2 separate regions of the Homo sapiens genome follow, and region 1 is linked to region 2. The links are contacts of gene promoters, found by promoter capture Hi-C in blood cells and fetal thymus (Javierre and others, 2016). All regions are on one chromosome and are shown on one strand. The core of a region is centred on a gene start or on the middle of the fragment in contact, and the rest is flanking DNA. Distances in the headings are between cores, read along the strand shown. Region 1 overlaps LAMA2 (laminin subunit alpha 2). Region 2 holds the start of ARHGAP18 (Rho GTPase activating protein 18).

Region 1 (3,691 bases), core at 993-3,492, 210 kb after region 2:
AAATTTTATTGGTCTACCTAGGGAAGCTTTGCTTTAATAGGCTATCGCAGGTGCAGAGACAAATGTTGAGATTTTGTTTTAATCAGGCAGTATATTATCTATTTGCAGTCATGCCAAAGAGGACAGTAAGCTGGCAAATGAGCCTTCTGTGCCCATAATAGTACCAGTTTCTGGGTGTAAGGCCAACGTTTTTAAAGTTGTTCCAAATAACTGTCAGTAGAAATGATACCTTAGAGCCCTTTAAACACGATCAACCAGAGATTCCTGGATTCCTGGTTTTCACAGACCACTGTGTGGTTAGGTGGGGAGTCTTGGGACCCATTTTAGTGTTGCCAACTTTTGCTTTTGGCAAATACTATTTCATAATAGAAAGGCCTTTTAGCCACCATAAAAATGCTATAATATAATCTCAGAATAAATATTATTCCTTAAAATTGAATACATCGAGCTTGATGGTGAACACACTCTGTTCTACGTTTCTCACTTAGAGCAGTGGAAATGTCTTCAGCCACCTGGCCTCAGTTTATGGGTAGATGTTTGAAAACCACAGCCATATAGCAGTGATGGAACCATGATGAGGCATGCCAGTGGTCAAATGCAAACCTACACAGGTCTGAGCACATTTTCCAAGATTGTGGTAGTTGTATATGGCACTTATTTTATTTTTAGCTTCTGCCAGAGTCAGTGTCTGCCCTGGCAAAATATACTGGCACCAGGAGAATGCTGATGGCTGCCACTCAGTAATTCCCTTAGGGTACTGCCAATATCCAGGGGACTATTACCTTGTGCCACTGGCCATCATTGATTTTGGTGGGGATCATGGTGTGGGTGTCCCCACTCCCCAAGTCATAGCTGAAGTAGGGCAATCCATTTCTCAGCTGAACTGTTGCAAAATCAGCATGATTGATGCGAGCCATGTAAAAAAGCAAGCCGGATTCAGCTTCGGTTCTTACTTCCAACTCAATTGTGAGACTGTGAAACAAAAGCATGCAAAGTCAAACAGAAAAATAACAGCATTCTCATGCTAAAATAGAGCGGTATCAGATCGTGGCTGCATTTTCATAAAGGAGAGTAAAACCTTCTCAGAGATGAGGACTTTATCAGGCTACTGATTTCCTAAATTGGGCTCCTCAGGCTCAGACAAATAAAATTCTATTCTCTATTGTACTCAGTGAATAAAAGAAAAGCTAACTTCATTAATTAATAAGTGTAGTAGATTCAACTTGATTAAACACAAATACTCAGTTCTTCATTTATCGGTTCTTTCCCAGTGTCTCAGGATGATACATACCGGTTTTTAACTTTGGTGTCATCAAATGCAATTGCAATGTGACTGTTTCTTGAAAGCCCGAACTGCTTGCTCCCTATCAAAAGAGCTGGTTCTGATTCTGCAGCACAAGGACCCTGTAAAATACCCAGGAGAGAAAAACAGGAGATTATGGACTGTTCTTTAAAAAGGTAATGATGCTGTCTAATTGTTTCTTACATATTAGCGTAATTCTTTAAGAATAAAAACTACATTATTCATCTCTGTAGTCTACTGCATAGTAAGTACTTATTATTGAGTGCTCAGTGCGTGTGAATCAGTTTTCTCATATCACACCCTGGAATGGCTAAAGGAATGTGCTCAGACATATTTATTGATTAACTCATAGTTTCATTATCCTCTAAAAATTTATGTATATTTCTGAGAAAACTGGAATTTCCCTTTCATTTTTCCTTCACATATGAAGAGCTCTATTCTTAGAAGATCGAACAGGGAAAATGACAAGCTAGCCACTTGGGTTATAAGAGTAGCAAAATGTGTTTTTTCTTGCCCTCCCCATTTCCATCTCCCACTATATTACTTTTTCTTGAAAATTATCAGTCCACTAGAAGGTTTCCATGAATGTAGACTTTCAAGATGGTGTATCTAAACCTGCACGTCAGCCCATTCAGGCCCTTGCCAGTTGCTAGGCAACCCAGCACATTTTAAAAATGTAACCCACCATACACCATTTCAACTGCCACTGTTCAAAGATCAGCTTCCTAGGGTGCTGAGGGGGAGAGCTAGGTGCGGGGCTGTGCAGTCACATGGTTTAATGCTCTGCTGTCACCATCTTGAAATTCTTAATAATTTTTCAGTGAGGGGCCCTGCATTTTCCATTTTGCACTGGGCCTTGCAAAGCATACAGCAGTCCTGGCTGAGTAGATCACATTTGGCTACCATAACACACAGCTCCATAAATAATCAAGGCTCCTTAAATTACCAAAGCCACAATTCCTTTCCCTGTTCTCTATTTTCACAAGATAGGTCGATATACAGGCTGCTTATGACATCTCTTAGAACATGCAGTACATGAGAAAATAACCTGCACACTCTCACCAACACATCTGTTTTTAAGATCTGCACTTAATAGCTCTGGCTGGGCCGCTGCCCCAGTGAGTGCTGACTCAGCAGAGGTTCTCAAGCAGCCCAAGGCAGGCTTTTGATGCACAGTGTTCTTCCCAAAGAGTGTACCTCAGAGATGACTCATCAGCACACAGGAAATTTTTACTTGATGAGGAAAAGCCTTGTTCTCTTTTCTCTTGATCTTAGTCAAACGAAGCACTCTGCCACAGCAGGTAAAAGGCTTAAAGTGTTTTGAAATGCCGTAAAATTGGTCTTCATGGAAGTATTTCCCTTCTTGCTTCCCAGGAGATGGTCAGTTATAAAGAGCAGACTGTGGCCGAAATTCACACAGCTATGCAAAACCCCGTGGGTAGGACAGGAAAATGCTATTCATTCGCACAGCTGAATGGCCTCTTTTAGAGGCAGCATGTGGCACCTTTCTTATTACGCTGCCTGCAAAAAGAGCCCGAATGGAAAGGCCTCTGTAGCTTAAGATCTCAGTCATGAATACTTCTATTAATAGAATTGGGATCTTTTATCAGCCTCTCACGATATTTCCCGGACAGAGGACCGTCTCGATAAACACACGCAGCTTGCAGTCTTCCTCAGAAATCACTAAGATAATCCTATCTGCTGTGAGTCCACTGGGGGCAGAATTTCACTGAAACATCTTTACACCCTCAGCTCTGAAAATTGAGGGATTAAGAAAGGTGGATGGATGCTGAGGAATTAGGAAACAATTACATGTAGCTTAAAAGAGAACCACCAGTGGGTTATGTCCATATTATTGCGGTTACAGTCACTCGTCTAATTACTATATGTAAATGTCAATATAACTTCTCTATTAAAATTTAAAAAATTTTCAAGGTGGCAGTTGTACACTCCCGGTAGCAGCTGTATGTTATGGGGAACTTTTGGATTGCTGGTAGACTGGACAGGTGTATCCAAAACTGGTCCTGAGCTAAGCAGCAGTTTTTTGGTTTGTTTTTATTTTGTTGTTGTTTCGTTGTATACTATGAGATTTTCTAGATGGACAAGGCACTGGTCAAGCCATTTTAGAAAAAAACCTTTGACCAGAAAAGGACAGGGACTTTGTCAAAGTTCTTTTAAGAATCATTACAGGTTACATCCACTTGAAATTTAGGAAGAAGAACACCTCCTGGATTAGATCCTCCGTTTCTGCAACGGGCAGCCCTCAAGAAGCAGGCAGAAGCAGTGCTTAATAAAACGGTATTCTCAGATGAGCCAATGTTATGGAAAAGAGTTGTACCAAACTGATCACTCTAACATGTAACCTCAAAGTTTAAAGCCATTATGGTG
Region 2 (3,881 bases), core at 831-3,330:
AATTTAGTAGAGTTTTAAAGGATACTTTCAATTCATTCAGGTTTTCCTCCATTCAGTGTTTACTGAAGGCTCAGTAGGTACAAAATTTAAGTTAGCTGTCAGATGAAGAGAAAAGAATCATAGTAGGACCTGAAAAGATTGTGTCTAGCAGATGGAAAGACTTGTATGTATAAGGTAGCAGGAATGCCCAGTGATCTGCTCAAAAGCCTGGAACTGGCTCTGTTAGCAATAGAGAGCCAATGAAGGTTTTTAAGCGAGGAGAGGGATCATGAGTGCCAGGGTGTGATCATAATGTCAAAGCAATTTAAAGGAGGTGACAGGGAGATGAGCTAAAAGGGCTGTTGTAATATTGGAGCTAAGACTGCATTATAGGATCCAGAGGTGGTTGAGGTCATGGGGATAAAAAGGAGACAGCAAGTAAAGTCCTATGGAAGTGGAAATGGGAAGGTTGAGCAGTTGTGCAGGGGGGAGGGAGGAAGATATAAATTCCTTTTAAGGAAGACTTTTGTAAATTATAAGAAAGAGGGTTCAAAAATAAATTTCAGATACTTCTAGAGTATGTAAGGAGGAAGAAATTATTTTTCATGACTGTTTTAAATAATGATAAGGTATAAGCAATAAGTTTATGTAATGATGGAATTGGAAACTTGTTCAAGAGGAATTCTAGAGAGTTGAATGAATCATAAAAATCTAAAAAAACCTTCAGACTACTGGGTATGTCAGAGTAGAAGCCAGGCGTGGTGGCTCATGCCTGTAATCTCAATACTTTGGGAGCTTGAGCCAAGAGGATTGCTTGAGCCCAGGAGTTCAAGACCAGCCTGGGCAACACAGTGAGACCCTCCCTCTCCACAAAGCATAAAAAAATTAGCTGGGCGTGGTAGTGCATGCCTGTGGTCTTAGCTATTGGGGAGGCTGAGGCTGGAGGATTTCTTGAGCCTGGGAGGTTGAGGCTGCAGTGAGTTACAATCACCACTGTACTCCAGCCTGGGTGACAGAGTGAGACCCTGATTCAAAAACAAACCAAAAAAGTGATTTTTTTTTTTGGAGGGGAGATGGGGAGAAAGAACAGAGCTGTCTTTTGTGTTTATGATAATTTTGATCTTGTTTCTTAATCTGCAAAACAAAGAAGAGCATACTGGTGAAAAATAAAAGGAATGTAGCCTAGAATTCTGTTCAAATCCAGCTTCTGGCACTAGCAACTGTGTTATCTTAGTGAAGTTACTTAACTCGTCCCTCAGCCTTACTTTCCTTGTGTTATGTATAACACAGATGATAGTGATACCTATCTTGTACGGTGTGTGTGTGTGTGTGAGAGAGAGAGAATTGAATGGAATGAGATAATACATGTGAAACCCCCGTCCATGAGAGCTTGGCATATAGTAGGTGCTCAACAAATGGCAGGGACTTCTCTTGTTCTCAGCAATAACACTTAACAGAGCATTGGTAGGTCTATCCCTTTTTGGTGCTGAAAAATATTTTGCTAAAACAAGACGTATATTTGAGATTGGCTTTATGTGAAAGACGACGACATTCCAGGACACACAATTTTTATGAGGGCATTTTTAACCGGACACAAGGATCAAGCCTTTCTCGTCGTCTGGATTGCAGAGTTTTGCCGCGGGTTCGTTGTTTTTTACTATGGCTAATTTTAACGCTGAACATGAAGGGGTTAAGAAATGCCTTTACTCATGTTACATTAAGTAGCAGAAATTATAAGATAGAGGAATTGGGGAGGGAAAAAAAAAAGCCTTGGCAGCAACTCATGGTTTCCTAAGTAAGACGGCTTGTAGTTACAGTGATGAGTTGAATATACGTTCTGGCAGTTTAATCTGATCAGACTAACTTGGGGGTGGGTGCAACCCGTCGCTTCCACCCTTCGCCTCCTTTAACCAAAGCCGCCCAGAGTGCAATTGTCCAGAGTTGAAACCATGCTGTGAGTTGCAGCTTCTAATTGGAGAGGCAGGAAGCCCTTCCCTGGACAGACCCCGCCCCTCCCCGTGTGAATCGCCAGCCTGCGGGGAGGAGCTGGCCAATGCTAATGAGCGAGTTGCCAGGCGAGACAGGAACTTCTTTCCCCTTCTCTGTGTCAGGATCGCAGAAAGTATGTCCCTTCTCTCACCATGAGCTGGCTCTCCAGTTCCCAGGGAGTGGTACTAACAGCCTACCACCCCAGCGGCAAGGACCAGACCGTCGGGAACAGCCATGCAAAGGCAGGGGAGGAAGCCACCTCGAGGTAAGCCTTCGGAAGCTGAAAACAAAACAAAACCCTCTTACCTGCTCCAGGAAGAAAGTGACAGGGAAGTTGGCGTGGGGAGAAGGGAATTCCATCTGCACGTCGAGCCTGAGCTCGTGCAGCAGCAGTAGCAACGTTTGGCGTGATTTTTATGTACTTTTCATCTCACCTAGTCCAAGTCTGAAATAACCCATATGATTACTGGTGAAGACAGAGAAGAAGGAACTGGGGAGAGGGCTATATGGGCTGTCAGACTAGCTATTTAGCAGGTGCATTTGCACATGCTGAAAGATCAAATAGGTCTATCTGAAACACTTCCTTTCCTATGAAATGGAATTCTTGAATGGGCTCAAGGCACTGCCACTGGAACTGTTCGCTGGGAAAGTCTGCCAAAAAGCAGGGAGGCTGTTCACTGTACTGTACAAGCTGTTGTTGTTAGAGTGTTTTTTTTCCCCCCTCTCTTTGCTGAAAGCAAACCTCTTAGGCAAAAAGCCCAAGACACTGGCCTGTGGCAATATGTTTCACATTCTTTTGTGTATGTGGATTTTTTTTCCCCCAGGCTTTCAAAAAGGAGTTTTTGTCAGGAGATAGCACTCTGCTGCTGGAGTGAAATGTGGTTAATGTTAAATCACTTTATAGGCAGAGAGGGCAAATGTTCTATAGACCACTGAGGCGCAAAGGGTACCTTTCTCCCTATCTGTGTACTTTGTTCCATTTTCCAAGGGCTTTTTTTTTTCTTTCTCTCCTTAATGACCTTCTCACTAGCTGAACATTTTTACCTCCATCAAGATATAAATAGTAAATATTGGCCTAGAAGATTGCAAGAAGCAAATACTAACCTAATAGCCTAGAACACTAAATTAGTTATCGGTAAGCACATTTCCTCCTCAATGCTTAATGTGATAATAAAACCTTCTTTGTTCTTATGTGACTTATGCCTGTGCCTTAAGCTGAAATAATGCTGCCTTTCATTTGTTTTAAAATCTCCAAATATGAGGGAGGGAGAAAAATCAAAGGAATGGCTGTAATACTCAGTGTTAGACTCCCAGCTGACGGGAACTGTTTCTCACATAGCATCCACAGTATGTATTTCATTGAATGAATTCATTTCCAAAGATAAAAAAGATTTGGTGCTTGTGCCTTAGCTGTGTTACCATTTCATTTTCCATCATTTTAAATGACTTAATGTTAAATCATTAAATCAAGAGATCTTGAAGTGTTTTCATCCATTTTTCTGTAATGTATTAGTAATCATTAAGCAGTAAAGCAGCCTGCAACACCAACCCCATACCCAGCCATAACTTGGATTCCACATGTCAGTCAAAATTGCCAAAATTATACAAGCTCAGGACATTCTCCGACTTTAGGCTGAATGGCCTGAGGACCTGAGCTGAATCTTGGATCTTGATTGTGAGAATGGAAAGGACCTTAAGGACTGAGTCCTAACCTCTCATTTTCACGTAGGACTCAAACCCCAGGGATTAGTTAAGTTTTTGGAAGGTCTGGAGTTCTAGGCCTTTGTCTGGGGCTGCATCTCCAGTTCTGGAGACTCATTATTCTGTGTTTGCAGTGTGGGTGGCCCATACTTGAGTGGGTTGAGAGAATAAGAGAGGATCAGATCATTCTCTGCCTAGGCTGAAGCAGAACC

Evidence for each region. Contacts are between HindIII fragments. The CHiCAGO score rates a contact against its expected background, and 5 or more counts as called.
Region 1: a fragment that was not itself captured here is called in contact with the fragment with the promoter of ARHGAP18 in region 2 in 1 of 17 cell types (erythroblasts); the score reaches 5.2 in erythroblasts.

The regions. Positions count from the first base shown.
Region 1 is chr6:129,500,372-129,504,062 of GRCh38, reverse strand. It overlaps LAMA2 (laminin subunit alpha 2), which reads right to left. Exons shown (of 65, transcript NM_000426.4): 59 at 1,292-1,404; 60 at 783-972. LOC102723409 (a long non-coding RNA gene) reads left to right here. Exons shown (of 8, transcript XR_001743860.2): 7 at 1,272-1,458. Among named protein-coding and RNA genes, the nearest start is that of ARHGAP18, 210 kb to the left of the region's middle. RefSeq lists an enhancer at 1,155-2,354. The HindIII fragment of the contact is 4,428 bases long and covers 29-3,691 here.
Region 2 is chr6:129,708,376-129,712,256 of GRCh38, reverse strand. ARHGAP18 (Rho GTPase activating protein 18) reads left to right here and starts at 2,080. Exons shown (of 15, transcript NM_033515.3): 1 at 2,080-2,233. The coding sequence starts at 2,121. RefSeq lists a silencer at 1,727-1,806. The HindIII fragment of the contact is 10,321 bases long and covers 1-3,881 here.